Regions from separate parts of the Homo sapiens genome. Here regions 1, 2, 3, 5 and 6 are each linked to region 4. Evidence: promoter capture Hi-C in 16 types of primary human blood cells and fetal thymus (Javierre and others, 2016). All regions are on one chromosome and are shown on one strand. The core of a region is centred on a gene start or on the middle of the fragment in contact, and the rest is flanking DNA. Distances in the headings are between cores, read along the strand shown. Region 1 holds the start of H4C9 (H4 clustered histone 9). Region 2 has its middle 11 kb from the start of TRQ-CTG6-1. Region 3 holds the start of TRS-AGA2-2 (tRNA-Ser (anticodon AGA) 2-2). Region 4 holds the start of H4C3 (H4 clustered histone 3). Region 5 has its middle 4.6 kb from the start of TRV-AAC1-5. Region 6 has its middle 3.9 kb from the start of TRQ-TTG3-3.

Region 1 (2,700 bases), core at 6-2,505, 1.0 Mb before region 4:
TCTTGTAAAATAGGATGACAGAACTCACTGACAATGGCCCTATTAAGAGACTCAGTTTGCAGTCATTTCAACTCTTTTGTTGAAAGCTTAGGGGCCCTAAAAAGGGCCTTTTTAGAGAATGACTGGGCTTCAAAATGCCATTTAGCCGCCGAAGCCATAGAGGGTGCGGCCCTGGCGCTTGAGCGCGTAGACCACGTCCATGGCGGTGACCGTCTTGCGCTTGGCGTGCTCCGTGTAGGTCACGGCGTCCCGGATCACGTTCTCCAGGAACACCTTCAACACTCCGCGGGTCTCCTCATAGATGAGGCCAGAAATGCGCTTCACGCCGCCGCGGCGAGCAAGGCGCCGAATGGCTGGCTTGGTGATACCCTGGATGTTGTCGCGCAGCACCTTGCGGTGGCGCTTGGCACCCCCTTTCCCCAGGCCCTTACCTCCTTTGCCGCGTCCTGACATTATCAAGTGGTCAGAGAACAAAGGTCTGCTGCCTGTGATGGCAGCTTTCTTTTATGGGTAACCTCTGCGGACCAGACTGAAAACCGGAAGAGCTTTGGCGGGAAGTCCCTCTGCATTGGGGGAGGGGACCTAAAAGGGAAACAGGCCTGCTGTGCTCTACTCCCTCTTGTTCTCCTTCAGTCCTTTTTAATCCTCAAGACCTAGGCTGTTTTTCCTTTTTTCATTTAACATGATTCCTGCCTCATAACAAAAATGTTAACATTATAGAAGATACATAAAGCAAAAAGAATGTTATCTCTGCATATATGCATGTTTTCCTTTAACATTATTTGTATGGAACTATGCTATTTTGTGGCATTTTTCTCCTTAATATACAATGGAAATATACTCCATATGCTAAATTCCTAGCAATAGAACAAGATAGACTCATAGAATTTAAAGATCGTTCAGGTATATTGCTAAGTTCTTTTCTACTTATTTTCATTTCTAGTGTTTGGGGTGGAGAATTATCCCCCCAAATATCGAGCTTGGTAATGGTGGGTGTTTTTGAAAATTGAGGGTTCTCAGAAACAAGTCTAAGAATCAAGGTCCCTCTAACTTTGTCCTGTTTCTCTTCCCCAAATACAGGGAGGGACTTTCTCTGGAATTTCCTGATATGACCAAGAAAGCTTCTTATCAAAAGAAGCACAATTGCCTTCGGTTACCTCATTATCTACTGCAGAAAAGAAGACGAGAATGCAACCATACCTAGATGGACTTTTCCACAAGCTAAAGCTGGCCTCTTGATCTCATTCAGATTCCAAAGAGAATCATTTACAAGTTAATTTCTGTCTCCTTGGTCCATTCCTTCTCTCTAATAATCATTTACTGTTCCTCAAAGAATTGTCTACATTACCCATCTCCTCTTTTGCCTCTGAGAAAGAGTATATAAGCTTCTGTACCCCACTGGGGGGTTGGGGTAATATTCTGTGGTCCTCAGCCCTGTACCTTAATAAATTTGTATGCCTTTTCTCTTATTAATCTTGTCAGTTGATTTTCAGTGAACTTTCAGAGGCCAAAAGGGAGGTTTTCTCTTGGCCCCTGCACCAGTAGCAGTTCCTGATATGCCTACAACCTTAACTAATGCTGGGTAGAACCATTTAAAGTAATCTAACTTTACTAATAAGGACTTGATTTCTTGTATATAGAAATAACTTTTCAAAAAGTTAATCAGTTGGTTAGTCAGCACAATACATTAACTATTTCCCCCACTGATTTGAGGAACTTATTATCATATACTGAATATATGAGCCACCGCACCCGGCCCATTTGGTGATTTTCTTGCTACTCTTTATTTTAATGAGTACCTTACAGCAGTGCTTGAAGTATTTTCAAAGTATTCCACTTAAATGTCATAAAGTAAATGAAGATAAACTTTTCATTAAAATACTTTAGAAATTTTTGCATTTATGTTGCAATAAAAGAAAACTTGCCATACACCTTTGGAAAACAAAAAAAAATTGATATGACTGGCTGTAACTTGCTGTAGCTGAATTCAGTATATGTTGTAAAGAGGGTAAGGTAGCATAGGTTAATTGAATACGTTAATCTAAGGGTAAATACAAATTAAAAATGAGAGGCTTAATTATCTGTTGAAAACAAAAGACTTCCCTTTCCTTTCCCATCACTTTCAAAATGTCTTTCTCTGTCCTTTTAAAATGTATGTAAATCCTTTTAATGGCTAAATAGGCCTTATAACTCAGAATATTTTCTCAATGCCTGGAGAGCCATCCCTTTGAAATGTTAATCATTAAAAAAGATAGTGGTCTGTCTCCCAGTTTCCAGCGAGAAAATGGGCTGAACTTTAGCTGTCACCTGACTTCGAATTGCAAAACCTATCCAATGTAGCCATACATAATAAGCAAGATTTCTTTCTGCTTTTGCAACCTCTTCATAAGGTTTCCTGTGATAAGCAACTCTCCCTGGTTTAATGCTTATTCAATAATAAAATTATTTCCTTTGTCTTCTTTGGGAGAAGATTTTAAAATTGTATTTCCCCAACATTAGTTAACAAGTATATTTCTCTACTTGAGCTTCTCACTAATCAGAAGCCTTTTTCTGTATCTGATTTCATGAGTTTTCGCATAGCAATTAGTGACAAGGATAGCAATGAATGGTAAAAGGTGGCAGAGCATGCCATCCCAAAATATGCCATTTTGGAATAAGAATTATTCTGAGATACAGGCAATTTTAAAAAGAGTAGGTACA
Region 2 (2,700 bases), core at 10-2,509, 1.7 Mb before region 4:
TCAAAGTATAAGTTTACCCATTTAAAAAGCTGGTTACAAACTCCTTCGCAAGTAAGAGTATACACCATAAGTGCACATAACAGACACCTTTTCCACTTCTATTTTTTTGTAGAGGCATAAGCAACAAAAAATATTCGAAGATAAGTTTCACGACAGTAGAAGTCTTAATCTGTGAACGTGAGAAAAGCTGTTCATAGTAAGGATGCCATTCTCCTCTTGGGAGAAATTTCTTTGGTTAATTTTACCTTAAGGGTTCCAGTGGGCACACAGCTCCAAGAGCTTGGAGGGACCCTTCTCAGTTGTGAGATTATGAACTCAAAGTTCAAGATCCCAAAGTTTTGTTGTAGTGTGAATGGCAAGAACAGTCTTTCTCTGATGCTTCTAGAAGATTCAAATCATAAAAAGCTTTCTTTGCCTGTTGAAAATACACTGTAGTAATCTACTGTTATAACATCAGCCCTCTTGCATAGGAAACCTTTTATACAACCAGAAAACATGCACTGAAAATAACAAATGAGCTCTCAAGCTTGGTGTTTGCTTGGTGGGGACCCACGTGGGTTCAACATGTGTATTGAGAAGTGTTATTTCTGTTCAGGGCCCATCTACCCTGGTCACGGCATGATGTTCGTCCACAACAATTGCAAGTTGTTCAGATTTTGTAAATCTAAATGTCATAAAAACTTTTAAAAGAAGTGCAGTCCTCGCAAAGCTAGGTGGATCAAAGCATTCCAGAATGCAGCTGGTAAAGAGCTTACAGTGGATAATTCATTTGAATTTGAAAAACGTAGAAATGAACCTATCAAATACCAGCGAGAGCTATGGAATAAAACTATTGATGCAATGAAGCAAATTGAAGAAATCAAACAGAAATGCCAAGCTAAATTTATAATGAACAGACTGAATAAAAATAAAGAGCTACAGAAAGTTCAGGATATCAAAGAAGTCAAGCAAAACATCCATCTTATTCAAGCCCCTCTTGCAGGCAAAGAGAAGCAGCTGGAAGAGAAAATGGTACAGCAGTTACAAGAGCATGTAGGCATGGAAAACACATCTTAAAAATCTCTGTAACCATTTCTTTTATGTACATTTGAAAATGTCCTTTACAGACTTGGAACTGCTAAATTATTAGTTTATTTTTTACATAAGGTCACTTAAATGAAAAGTGATTAAAACATATCTTTCCTACATTGACATCTGCAAAACATCAGATATTACGAATGTTAGATTGCATCTCAGTGTTAAATCTTCACTGATAGATGTACGTATGTAAATCATGAAAATTCTACTTCTAACTATAGAAGTGAATTGTGGATGTAAAATGGTTATGCTATTTGGATAATGGCACTAGGCAGCATTTGTATAACAACTAATGGCAAAAATTCATGGCTAGTGATGTATAAAATAAAATATTCTTTGCAATAAAATATTCCGTTTATTAACGTTACAGAAGGGGGGATACAACAAGGAACTAACAATTTGTATAACAGTGTCAAATGTTATTTTGATTTTAGTATTTCCTGTTTTGGTTTATTTGTATCTTAGAAGAGCACAATGACATTGTTTGATGAAGCCTAATTATTCTGGACTGTTTTGACCTGGTTTAACCCTTCTGATAGGTAGTTGTGGATATTGGGGATGAGAACTGAATAATCTTTGCCTGGAGTGACACTACACTCTAGAATTTCCATTTTGGAGAATACTCAGTTCTAACTTGTGACTGCTGGTAGAACAAACTTTATTTTTCTAGCCTAGCAATGTTCTAGAAGCAGAGGAATCCCAGTGCCTTTTAAAAGTTATTATATGGTTTTCTTTTAAAAAGCTCCTGTTTTTGGAAAGTAGAATTTATGAGTATAACATCTGTTCATTATTTGCACATAAAATGAAACCATTTAAAAAGAAAAAATAAACAGAAAAAGAAAATAACAAATGAATAAAATTCCTTTATAAAATGTTTAAATGGGCGACCACGTGACCAAACATATCTGAAGCTTTGTTTTCCCAGGAATATGGCATCAAGCATTGGTTATAAACTATTTTAAACAATTTCAGTATTAGCTGGTTTAACATGAAATTATTTTCTTGATATTTAATTAAGTTTTTGTTTTACTTGGGTTAGTAGCTTTATACAAGAAAATTTGGTTGTTTCTGCAGTTTACAATAACTTAACATAACTATAATTAATAGCTTATACTATTTTAGAAATCCCATACAATTTTGAAATATATATTAGTATTATTCACAAAAATATAGCCTAAAGAAGATTGAGCATCATTTTGGCAATCCCATGTACCTAAACGTGTCAAATAATCCTGTTTACCTGTCTTTTCTGGACACTTCAGGGGCCCGCTGAAGTATTCAAAAAGCCAGGTGCCAGGGAAGAGATTTTTGAAACCGATGTTTGATTTTGGGAATTCCAGATTGCTATAAGTTATTTATTTTGCCAAAACGATGACTCAGAAATTTTAAAGAAGCAAAGACCTTTTATAACCCTTTTGTATTTAGTCAACATGTTCACACAGAGAACCTCTTCCGTTAAAAAAAAAAAAAGTAAAACATTCACATGCTTTCAAAAGTTAAAGGTATAACAAAAGGTAAACTCAGAGAAGTGGCGTCCCATGTCCCTTACACTCCATTTCCCCCAAGTCTCTTACCACCATTTTAGGTAGCCAGATTCACTGTTTTCTGGTTTATCTTCACTAT
Region 3 (2,700 bases), core at 92-2,591, 1.4 Mb before region 4:
CCTGTGAAGTTACTCGCTATTGTCCATCTTTCTTTGCTCTGTAGTCACACGTTTCCCCTACCAAATATACGCAAGGCAATTCAGCGAACGTGTCTCCGCCCAACCGCGAATCCTCTCCAGTTCCTCCTTCATTCCTCGGACGCTTTGTCAGACCCTTTTAAAAAAGAACTCTCGCTAGCCTCCTTTGTGACGCACTGGTTTCCGTCTATGTTCAACCATGGTTGGAGCCCTAGCTAACATAGGAGTTACAAATCCCGAAAGGTGCATCGGTTGGTTTCAAAGACAGGAAAAGCAGAGGTGGGACCAATACCTGCGCTCCGTTGAGGTAAAATAGATAAAGAGTCTGCAGATGTATTTTTAAAGTTCAGGATGCGTCAAGTGGCACGCAGAAGCTTTATCACGAGTTCCCTCGCCCCCAAACTGAAAGCAAATATGACATCGTATTTCCTCTCTGAAGTAAATACGATTCCTCTCTGTTCTCAGTAAAACATCCCGAAGTCGGCAAAAGTTCAGGCTGCGTTAAGTGGCACGCAGAAGCTCTATTACGAGTTCCTTTACTCCCAAACTGAAAGCAAATATGACATCGTATTTCCTCTCTGAACTGTTCTCAGTAAAACATCCCGAAGTCGGCAAAAGTTCAGGCTATGTTAGGTGACACGCAGAGGCTCTATCACGAGTTTCTTTACTCCCAAACTGAAAGCAAATGTGAGATCCTATTTCCTCGCTGAACTGTTCTCAGTAAAACATCCCGTAGTCGGCAGGATTCGAACCTGCGCGGGGAGACCCCAATGGATTTCTAGTCCATCGCCTTAACCACTCGGCCACGACTACACGAATGGAGAAGGCTCCCTTCACATCTTTAAACAGAATTTACACCAGCTAACTGACAAGAAACGGTCAAAAGAACAAAATACGGTAAAAATGGTTTCCTGGGCAAGAAACTGGAGTCTGCGAGTTCATTAGAAACTCTAACGTGAAGTGCAAGTTGGATAAGACAAGCCAACCTCTCTGGGGCAGCCGCAAGGAGTCCTTGCCCTATCAGCAGTACCGTTTCCAGAAAACTAGAGACCACTGTACCTCTCTCACCTGGACCCAAACTGACCCCGCAAGGAAGTGGAATCAGACCCTCACCGTAAATCTGGGCCTGACACATTTAGTTTTTGTTTGAAACTTCCTCTCATTGAGGCTCCTTGATGAATGCTAATGGCTTTCAAGAAGGGACTAACTTTTGATTTGTGTCTGAACTGGAGGGCCAGAAAATGATGCAGAAAAGCCTACTTGCACTTTCTTGCTCTGATGAGGTCCCTAAGTCTCTAGGCTCACACCAACCCAAGGGAGTATATCTACCCGGTCTCGTTTGCACGGCATTTTGCATTTCACAATGCGCTTCCACGCTTCAGTTGGGTTAAGAAAGAAATTTATAGATTGTTCATGAGTTCCCATGGAACCAGGTTACCTATCAAAAGGAAGATCCTACTTTGATTTTTGGCCAAGGCAGACGCTCCTTCTCTCAAAATCTAACCCACGCAGTATGTTTTCTTTTCCTCTTATGCTTCCGTCTTGAAGTCTAAAGCTGCCGGTCCTGGAGTTTCCCTGAGCCCTTTGGATGCACAGATTATTGTAATTGGCTTTCATCTACTTCTTGGAACCATATACTAATCTAAGAAAAGAGGGAAACAATCGCAAGCTAAGAAATCATGTCGACTAAGTAGATAAATGAGGAAGAGGGACAAGAAGGAAGAGGAAAAGAAGAAAGTGACCAGAAAGGAGAAGAGAGAAAGGAAGGAGGGACAGGAGGTAGAAAGAAGAGGATGAAGGAGAAAGAAGAGGAGGAAGAGGAAGAGGAGAAACGAAGGAAGACCGGGAAGGGAAGAGACAGAGATTTTCTGAGGACCCTTGTTAGAGCTCAGAAAATGATACCCCAAAGTATGGCTCTTGGAAGTGCTGAGTACTTTGAACTAAAGAAGCAACCTCAGAATCAAAGTCTCTCTGACCTTCCGCAGCCCCACTGCCTCCTGATCCTCTTTCTTTCTTGAATGGCAGGGAGGGGCTTTCACTGAAGTTTCCCTTATTTGACTTACGGAGGTTCCTCCAGAAGGAAAGAGATTGTCATGAACCCTCTCCTGGAATCTGTATTAACCAGAGAAGATTAACTCAGATCCCAGGAGAGAAAACTAAAGGTCTCCATGCCCGGGACATCTCGCCCAGCCAGACTTCAATTCTTTTCTTCACCACCTATTCTGAGGGCTGCTACTTGAGAGACTTTATCTGTATAATAAGACAAGCTTTGTTCCCAGAGCTGTTCCTGCCCTGACCCTCACATTGCTTCTCGCCACCACCTTCCAGGAGCCTTCAAGCTCCTATTTCTTTATGTAGCTCCAAGTCCTATTTAAGCTTCAACCATCTGCCCCTTCTTTGAGTCTCACTTACACTTTCTGGGACCTCTGTGCATATGTGCATAATAAATGTGTATGCCTTTTCTTCTGTTAATCTGTCTACTAGCAGCTTTATTTCTCAGACTCAAATATCCAACCTCCAGAAGGGAGAAAAAAGATTCTCTCACCCCTACAGGCTCAAAAGAAGACTAAAAGAAATTCACTAGTTTTATGGAAGACCATAATTTGAGGGAATAGACATGAAGCAGTTTGATGGGGTAGCCAGGTGTCCATACAAATATAAGTTGTGCTATAGATTGTTGTT
Region 4 (2,700 bases), core at 141-2,640:
CTTCCTCCAGTTCTGGGGATTATTAGACCACTTTTTTGTTTTGTTTTGTTTTGGATGGAGCCTCGCTCTGTCACCCAGGCTAGAGTGCAGTGGCACAATCTCGGTTCACTGCAACCTCTGCCTCCTGGGTTCAAGCAGTTCTCTGGCTCAGCCTCCCACGTAGCTGGGATTACAGGTGCCCGCCACCACGCCCGGCTAATTTTTGTATTTTTAGTAGACGGGGTTTCACCATCTTGGCCAGGCTGGTCTTGAACGCCAGACCTCGTGATCCACCCACCTTGGCCTACCAAACTGCTGGGAATACAGGCGTGAGCCACCGCGCCCGGACTTAGACCACTTTGTTTTGGCCAATAGGACAACAGCCATAGAACCCTCCGCAAATGAGAGCTTGTCCCTAAAGATGCTTTATTTACATAGCTGTGTGCCGCATGAGCCAAAAGGTGATAACCTTTGTTCAACACGCGCCTCCAGCCCTTCGGTTAAGTCCAAAGTACCATTCTTAGAATGCTCTAAAATACATAATTTTTTTTTTTTTTTTTTTTTTTTTTTTTGAGGAGTCTCTCTCTGTCTCCCAGGCTGGAGGGGAGTGGCGCGATCTCGGCTCACTGCAATCTCTGCTTCCGGGCTAGCTGGGCCTACAGGTGCAGACCACCACGCCCGGCTAAGTTTTGTATTTTTTTTGGTAGAGGGGGTTTCACCATTTTGGCCAGGCTGGTCTCGGATTCTTGATCTCAAGTGATACACTAGCTTTGGCCTCCCAAAGTGCTGGGATTACAGTCGTGAGCCACTGCGCCCAGCAAAATGCTTTTTGTGGAGCCAATCACTTTATTAGCGCTTACCTCTCTATGCCTACTTTATGCTTTGAAATTTTGTCACAGTGTGGCCGGTCATGGCAAACACAATTCATTCTTATGCAGGATGTCACGGTTATTTCTGTCATCCAAACTCATTCTCGCAACGCATTTCAGCTCTTTAAACGACTTTGTGAGCGGCCCTGAAAAGGGCCTTTGGGTTTTTTTGTTTTTGTTTTTTGAAGTTCTCAGGAGACCGCGTATTCTTAGATTCAGCCGCCGAAGCCATACAGAGTGCGCCCCTGACGTTTTAGGGCATATACTACATCCATGGCTGTGACAGTTTTGCGCTTGGCGTGCTCCGTATAGGTGACGGCGTCTCGAATAACGTTCTCTAAGAAAACCTTAAGCACACCTCGAGTCTCCTCATAGATAAGACCGGAAATGCGCTTGACGCCACCGCGCCGAGCCAAACGGCGAATAGCCGGTTTTGTAATGCCCTGGATGTTATCCCGGAGCACCTTACGATGGCGCTTAGCACCACCCTTCCCCAAGCCTTTTCCGCCTTTGCCGCGACCAGACATGATTCCTATCGCAGTGGAAGGTATGAACTGAAACAGTTCCTTAAATACAAACTTGGCGGACCTGATTGAAAACAACATGAGTTGGCGCGGTTTTTTTTTTTTTTCAAATTTGGTCACCAAGTGGGTGGAGCAAGAAAAACTGTTTCATTATGGTTCATTGTTTTGATTGGCCAGTGACAGCTTGCTCTTTGTGGGAGTGGAAGGGTGTTTGCAAGTTGAATGCGCTGTATTCCTGTCAGCTTAATGACGCTAAGCATAGCCCCATTCCACATTTCTTTTTATTTCCACTTGCTAACTAATAAATTACGGAATAGTTTATTGGGGAACATACAAATAATGTTTAAAGGAGGTCAGATTTATAGGTCAAGGGATTTACCCTCCCAATCATTTTAATATTTTTATTTAAACCAGGCATTTTGATGGCCTTCTCTGTGCTGGACAAGGTATAAGTTTGGCTATGAAGTTTCACTCCTAAAGACCCTATGTTTTGGGAAGGCAAAAAGGTAGCCAAATAATTGCAAATTAAAACCTCATAAGTGCAAACTTCTTCCTCGTCACTTTCCCTATCTCGATTCAAATATTTGTTGAATGACTCATTTTTCTGCAAAAGTCTGAGAGAGACAGGGAATATAAACTTAAGTCTGGATAATATGTTTTCCCGGGACGCTCTTCCTGGTCTGCTGTGCCTGTTTGCTGTGCCTGAAATTCCAAACACTCTTCCCTTCCCTCCGTTTTTAATCCCCTTTCAACTTGCTACAGCTTTAGAGAAAAGAACATTCGTTTTGTACAGTTGGGGATTAATTGAAGTGTAGGGCTAATACTTGATTAAGGTCATTACAAAATCTACAGGGTCTTCCTCTGGGAGGTTTTTGTGATAAGATTATTGGTGTTAAAATAAGGCTAATCCCCTTGAAAAATAAATAGAATAGCAGAATTGGGTCTGAATGTGGTTTGAAGAAAGGGACTTCTCAATTCAAAATTTTATTCTTAGCTTCCTGCGGGAGCTTTCCAGAATGCCCATAAGATCCACTTTTGTTTAAAAAACAAAAACAACCCCACCCACCACTCTCTGGTTAATAAATGAATTTCTATTGGGAATATTTAGAATGGGGCTGTGGCCTGTGAGAGACATTATATAGTAACCTCAGACTTGCTCACATGAAGAGAAGAAATCCAGGAATGGAGAAAAAAGACCCAGGAAAGGCCAGAATGCTCTACATGTCATATTGTTTGTATCACTTCTGAAATAATTGATTACATTCTTCTGCCCCAAATTGAGTTCTTAGGTTCTTCCACTCACTGTCCACATGCCACAACACAGACCT
Region 5 (2,700 bases), core at 89-2,588, 1.7 Mb before region 4:
CAAGCATTTCAAGGAGAGGAGCTTGTAATGCAGAGGGGCAAGAGGCAGGAGGTGCCCAGTGGGTGTCTCATTCTGATGGCTTATCTTGAATTATTGTTTCACCTGGTGAAGGGGCCAGTGACATTGTAGGCCCAATCAAGTTACAAATTAATGACAGTCAATCTTGCAGATAATCTCTAGCCAAGAGTGAATATTGTCCTTGAATTAATCTCCTACTGGAGAGAGAATTCTGGAGATGTCTGGTCTGCATCAGGATTCAGCCCCTGAAGCTTCTAAGGAAATATATGACCAGATAAGTGGGCATGGTATGAGCTTAACAAGCATCCAGGTAAATAAATGAGCATAAGGCATGGGGGCATAAGATGCGAAAGGGAAGGCAGTTTTAATGCCCATTCCAAGGCAGTAATTGACGACAAAAGAAAGCACATCTGCAGTTTGTCTCAAAGCTATGTCTAGAAACTGGGGAGAAAGAAGAAAAGAAACAAAGTTTTTAAAACGTGGTTTGAAGCTAAGCTGCTTGGTTACCTTCCAACCTTCTGCAAGATTTTGCTGTTTTTTGTTATTATTAAAACAAGTAATAGGCCAGGCGCAGTGGCTCACACTTGTAATCCCAGCACTGTGGGAGGCTGAGTCAGGCAGATCACTGGAACTCAGGAGTTCGGAGGGGGAAAAAAACCAAGCCTGCGCGCTCTGAGCCCCACCCCCCATTCCCCATGGTGTCTGAGTAGGCTCCCAGGGCGAGCAGGATCCCTCCTCACAGGCGAGACTGGCTTCCTTGGAAAACCAATAGTCGGACTTGCGAGTTTTCCTCCAAGATAATTTTCTCAGGGACTTCTAAATGTGGTGCTGTACGCCTATGGTCCTAGCTACTTGGCAGGCTGAAGTCGAAGGATTGCTTGAGCCCTGGAGGTCTAAGCTGTAGTGAGCCGAGATCGCGGCCACTGCACTCCAGCTTGGGTGACAGAGCAAGACTCTGTCAAAACAAACAAACAAAACACACACACACACACAATGTAAACCAGGAATAGAAGGAAACTTCCTCAACTTGATAATGCCCAATTATGAAAAACATACAACTAATATCATTCTCAACAGCGAAAGACTGAAAATTTTTCTCCTACAATCAGGAATAATGGGTGCCCACTTTCACCATGTTATTCAGCACAGTATTGGCAAGGAAAAAGTAAAATTATCTATGTTCACAGATAACATGACTTTTTTTTGAGAGAGAGATGGGATCTCTCTTTGTCACCCAGGCTGGGATGCAGCAGAGCAATTATGCCTCACTGAAGCCTCGACTTCCCTGGTTCAAGCGATTACCCTGCCTCATCCTCCGGAGTAACTGGGACCACAGGCGCCTGCCACCATGCCCGGCTAATAAAAAAAATTTTAGAGACTAGGGTCTCGCTATGTTGCCCGTGTTGCCCAGGCTGGTCTCGAACTCCTGGGCTCAGGCGATCCTCCTACCTTGGCCTCCCAAAGTGCTGGGATTACAGGTGTGAGCCACCAAGCCTGGCCGTGACATGATTTTTATATATAGAAAACCCTGAAAATTACACACACACACTCAAACACACACACACACAAACTGTTACAGCAAATAAAGAAATTTAGCAAAATAAGGATAAACAACCACATGAGTTCCAGCAGAGAGCGCGGTGGGAAGCGGAGCGCGGCCAGCTGCTCTGGGGCCCTGCAGACCCTCTGGTCTTGGACCTGAGGAGGAGACGGGGGCCCGGCCCCGCGGCGGCCTCTGCTCTGCAGGCTCCCAGAGTCCTTGCTGTGTCTCCCACCGGCCAGGCCCAGGCCTGAGGCAGCGTCGAACCTCTCTTCACTTCCCACCTCGGTGACCTGGTGGCCCTCTGGTCTTCCAGAAAACCCTGCCGGGCCTAGACTAAGCCCCCGCTGGCCGCCAGGACGCAGCGCCTTTGTGTGGCGGCGGGTGTCGGGGGCGGGAAGAATCGCGCGGAAGCTGCCGGGGTGTGCAGGGACCGGGAAGGCGGAGCTAGGGATGCAGGTTCGGTCGCCTCTTTAGGCCACTGCGCCACGCAGATTGGGTCCAGAAGGTGCCGTTAAGTTTCTTCCCAGAAACTGTCAAGGTGCTGGTATGTTTCTTGCCCTTGCACTTTTAGTGTACTAAAATCAACGGCCAAACTCTACTCTTTATAGCAATCAAAGTATTCACCCATGCGCCCAATTTCTTTGCAAATGCCAAGCAAGAAAACCTCAGGTAGATGGAGGGAGCAGATAATTTGACTTTTTTTTTCTTTAATTTCACTATAGTGTCCTCCTCCACACATACAAGGATGAAGTTTTGTTTTTTAAGATGAAACAAATTTGTCATTAATGAAAGGATTGTCAAAATCTTCCCAAAGGTCCTCAGCTTCTGAATCACCTGGAAGCTTCTAAAAATTAAGACTTGTGGGCCATACCAGAGACCCTCTGCACTAGAAGGGGGTATGGCAAGGAATCTTAGGAATAGTCCACCTGGAGAATCACTAGCGTAAGTTCTGGGCCTCACATTCCCTCAGAAGAGTCCCATGAACCTGTGGTCAGCAGCTTAGGGCTGGTCTTCTTTACTGATCTGAGGGACAATGGGAAGCTTAGGACTCCCTGCATGGCATCTCTCCCGCCCAGGGGAGAACAGCTCAACAAATTTCCTCATTAACTACAAAGTTAAATGGAAGCATATGCTATGAA
Region 6 (2,700 bases), core at 98-2,597, 1.7 Mb before region 4:
TAGACAGAGCTGATTCATCAAGACAGGGGAATTGCAATAGAGAAAGAGTAATTCACACAGAGCTGGCTGTGCAGGAGACTGGAGTTTTATTACTCAAATCAGTTTCCCTGGGCATTTGGGGAGCAGAGTTTTTAAGGATAACTTGGTGGATGGGGGGAAGCCAGTGAGCCAGGAGTGCTGAATGGTCAGAGATTAAATCATAGGGAGTTGAAGCTCTCTTCTTGTGCTGAGTCAGTTCCTGGGTGGGGGCTACAGGATCAGATGAGCCAGTTAATAGATCTGGGTGGTGCTATCTGACCCATCTTGAGTGCAGCGTCTGCAAAATATCTCAAGCACTGATCTTAGGAGCAGTTAGGGAGGGTTAGAATCTTGTAGCCTCCAGCTGCCATAATTTTTAATCTTGTGGCTAATGTTAGTCCTACAAAGGCAATCCAGTCCCAAGGCAAGAAGGAGGTCTGCTTTGGGAAAGGGCTGTTACCATCTTTGTTTAAACTATAAACTACAAACTAAGTTTCTCCCTAAATTAGTTCAGCCTACACCCAGGAATGAACAAGGATGGCTTGGAGGTTAGAAGCAAGACGGAGTTGGTTAAATTCCATCTCTTTCTCTGTCTCAGTCATAATTTTGCAAAGGTGGCTTCAATATCTGTCATTAAATTGCTGGAATGTTACTTTATTTTGCATTTGACTATTTTTTTTTTAAATTTTTATTTGAGATGAAGTCTCGTTCTGTCGCCCAGGCTGGAGTGCAGTGGCACGATCTCTGCTCACCACAACCTCCACCTCCCAGGTTCAAGCGATTCTCCTGCCTCAGCCTCCCGAGTAGCTGGGATTACAGGCGCGTGCCACTGCACCTGGCTAATTTTTTGTGTTTTTAGTAGAGATGGAGTTTCACCATGTTGGCCAGGCTGGTCTTGAACTCCTGACCTCAGTTAATCTGCCCGCCTCGGCCTCCCAAAGTGCTAGGATTACAGGCGTGAGCCACTGTGCCTGGCCCGATTATTTAATATCTGAGAAACATAAGAGGCTAAGAAAAGCTTTGAAAGAATGTCATCTATTTTATTTATGCTTATATTATGGCCAGGTTATATTTCTTTTTCTTTTTTTTTTTTTTTTGAGATGGAGTCTCACTCTGTTGCCCTGGAGTGCAATGGTGTGATCTCAGCTCACTGCAACCTCCACCTCCCGGGTTCAAGGGATTCTCCTACTTCAGCCTCCCAAGTAGCTGGGATTACAGGCACGTACCACCACGCCCGCCTAATTTTTTAAAAGTTTTTAGTAGAGACAGGGTTTCTCCATGTTGGCCAGGCTGGTCCCGAACTCCTGACCTCAGGTGATCCACCTGCCTCGGCCTCCCACATTGATGGGGTTACAGGCATGAGTCACCGTGCCTGGCCAACCAGGTTATATTTCTATAGCCTCTCCAAATTCTGGGAACGAACCCCACTTGAGGCCTACAACACTAAATTCCCACATCCCCAAAAGATGTACTCAAATATTGGAGCAGTTAGCACAGTCCAGACTATCAAATGTGTTGACCTGAAATCTATTTTCTGTATGGACAAGAAGACTACAGACTGAGAATTTTAATAGAAGATATTGCCATTCATAAGAATTGTGCTGCAGGAAGGAAAAGAGACGAGAAAACCTACAAGCTTAACCAAGAAAATGGATCTAACCTTCCATTCAGTGGCCCCCAGATCTTCCTGTTCCTTTCCATGCAATGAACAAACATAGGAGCTAGAACCTGGTTCCTTGGTGTAAAACAAACAAACAAACAAAAAAACAACAAAAAAAAAACAGCCAAAACTGAGGATCTAAGGTCATCTTGACCTTTGTGAGATCACCACAAAGAAACAAATGCCATTTTGTCCACTGTGTGATCACAAACAAGTCAGTGACACTCATTATACCAGTTTCCTTAACAGCAAAATAGGGGTGAAAATCAGCCTCATTTTATCAGGAAGTTGTATGATTGAATAAGACAATGAATAAGATATATGTAGGACAGGCATGGTGGCTCATGCCCGTAATCCCAGTACTTTGGGAGGCCGAGGTGGGCAGATCACTTGAGGTCAGGAGTTCAGGACCAGCCTGGCCAACATGGTGAAACCTCGTCTCTACTAAAATTACAAAAATTAGCTGGGCATGGTGGCACATGCCTGTAATCCCAGCTACTCAGAAGGCTAAGGCAGGAGAATCACTTGAACCCGGGAGGCAGAGGTTGCAGTGAGCCAAGACTGCGCCACTGAACTCCAGCCTGGGAAACAGAGCGAGGCTCTGTCTCAAACAAACAAACAAACAAACAAAAAAGACATATGTAACAGGGAAATAATTATCACCATGCATTAAGAGGAAAAGAATAATATAGAAATTACTGCAAATTATATTTATAAGTGAGGAAAATCACTCAGAGCCAGTAATTTTACCTCTATATGACCCCATCAGCCAGCTTAAAGGAAATTAACTTACTTAACCAAAAAAACATTTATTGAGCACTTAATATATGAGAGACAATATATTAGCATTGAGAATACACGCTGAAAATAGCCTGCTAAAATTCCTGTTCTTATGGTACTTTGAGGTGGGATTAAATTCCATAACATGTCATCACCTTGATAAGTGGTTTAGATAAAAATACAGCAGGAAAGGGGATAGGGAGCTGGAGATTGCATTTTTAAGGAGGGCATACAAATGAGGT

What was found. The method cuts DNA at HindIII sites, captures the fragments that hold promoters and counts their contacts. A CHiCAGO score of 5 or more calls a contact.
Region 1: a fragment that was not itself captured here is called in contact with the fragment with the promoter of H4C3 in region 4 in 15 of 17 cell types (total B cells, activated CD4 T cells, naive B cells and 12 more); the score reaches 13.8 in total B cells.
Region 2: a contact is called between a fragment that was not itself captured here and the fragment with the promoter of H4C3 in region 4, in 1 of 17 cell types (monocytes). The highest score is 5.2, in monocytes.
Region 3: a fragment that was not itself captured here is called in contact with the fragment with the promoter of H4C3 in region 4 in 3 of 17 cell types (total CD4 T cells, activated CD4 T cells and monocytes); the score reaches 6.8 in total CD4 T cells.
Region 5: a fragment that was not itself captured here is called in contact with the fragment with the promoter of H4C3 in region 4 in 2 of 17 cell types (non-activated CD4 T cells and monocytes); the score reaches 6.4 in non-activated CD4 T cells.
Region 6: a contact is called between a fragment that was not itself captured here and the fragment with the promoter of H4C3 in region 4, in 2 of 17 cell types (fetal thymus and total B cells). The highest score is 7.1, in fetal thymus.

What each region holds. Positions count from the first base shown.
Region 1 is chr6:27,137,062-27,139,761 of GRCh38, reverse strand. H4C9 (H4 clustered histone 9) reads right to left here and starts at 480. Exons shown (of 1, transcript NM_003495.3): 1 at 84-480. The coding sequence starts at 453. The coding sequence ends at 142. It also overlaps a transcript of H2BC12 not described here. RefSeq lists enhancers at 1-524, 287-666. The HindIII fragment of the contact is 264 bases long and covers 1,124-1,387 here.
Region 2 is chr6:27,778,976-27,781,675 of GRCh38, reverse strand. It overlaps the pseudogene RSL24D1P1. Among named protein-coding and RNA genes, the nearest start is that of TRQ-CTG6-1, 11 kb to the left of the region's middle. The HindIII fragment of the contact is 1,462 bases long and covers 529-1,990 here.
Region 3 is chr6:27,476,943-27,479,642 of GRCh38, reverse strand. TRS-AGA2-2 (tRNA-Ser (anticodon AGA) 2-2) reads right to left here and starts at 831; the gene lies at 750-831. The HindIII fragment of the contact is 1,893 bases long and covers 395-2,287 here.
Region 4 is chr6:26,102,623-26,105,322 of GRCh38, reverse strand. H4C3 (H4 clustered histone 3) reads right to left here and starts at 1,390. Exons shown (of 1, transcript NM_003542.4): 1 at 986-1,390. The coding sequence starts at 1,375. The coding sequence ends at 1,064. RefSeq lists enhancers at 1,028-1,718, 1,743-1,852. The HindIII fragment of the contact is 10,429 bases long and covers 1-2,700 here.
Region 5 is chr6:27,756,675-27,759,374 of GRCh38, reverse strand. No RefSeq gene overlaps it. Among named protein-coding and RNA genes, the nearest start is that of TRV-AAC1-5, 4.6 kb to the right of the region's middle. The HindIII fragment of the contact is 2,133 bases long and covers 272-2,404 here.
Region 6 is chr6:27,798,477-27,801,176 of GRCh38, reverse strand. No RefSeq gene overlaps it. Among named protein-coding and RNA genes, the nearest start is that of TRQ-TTG3-3, 3.9 kb to the right of the region's middle. The HindIII fragment of the contact is 618 bases long and covers 1,039-1,656 here.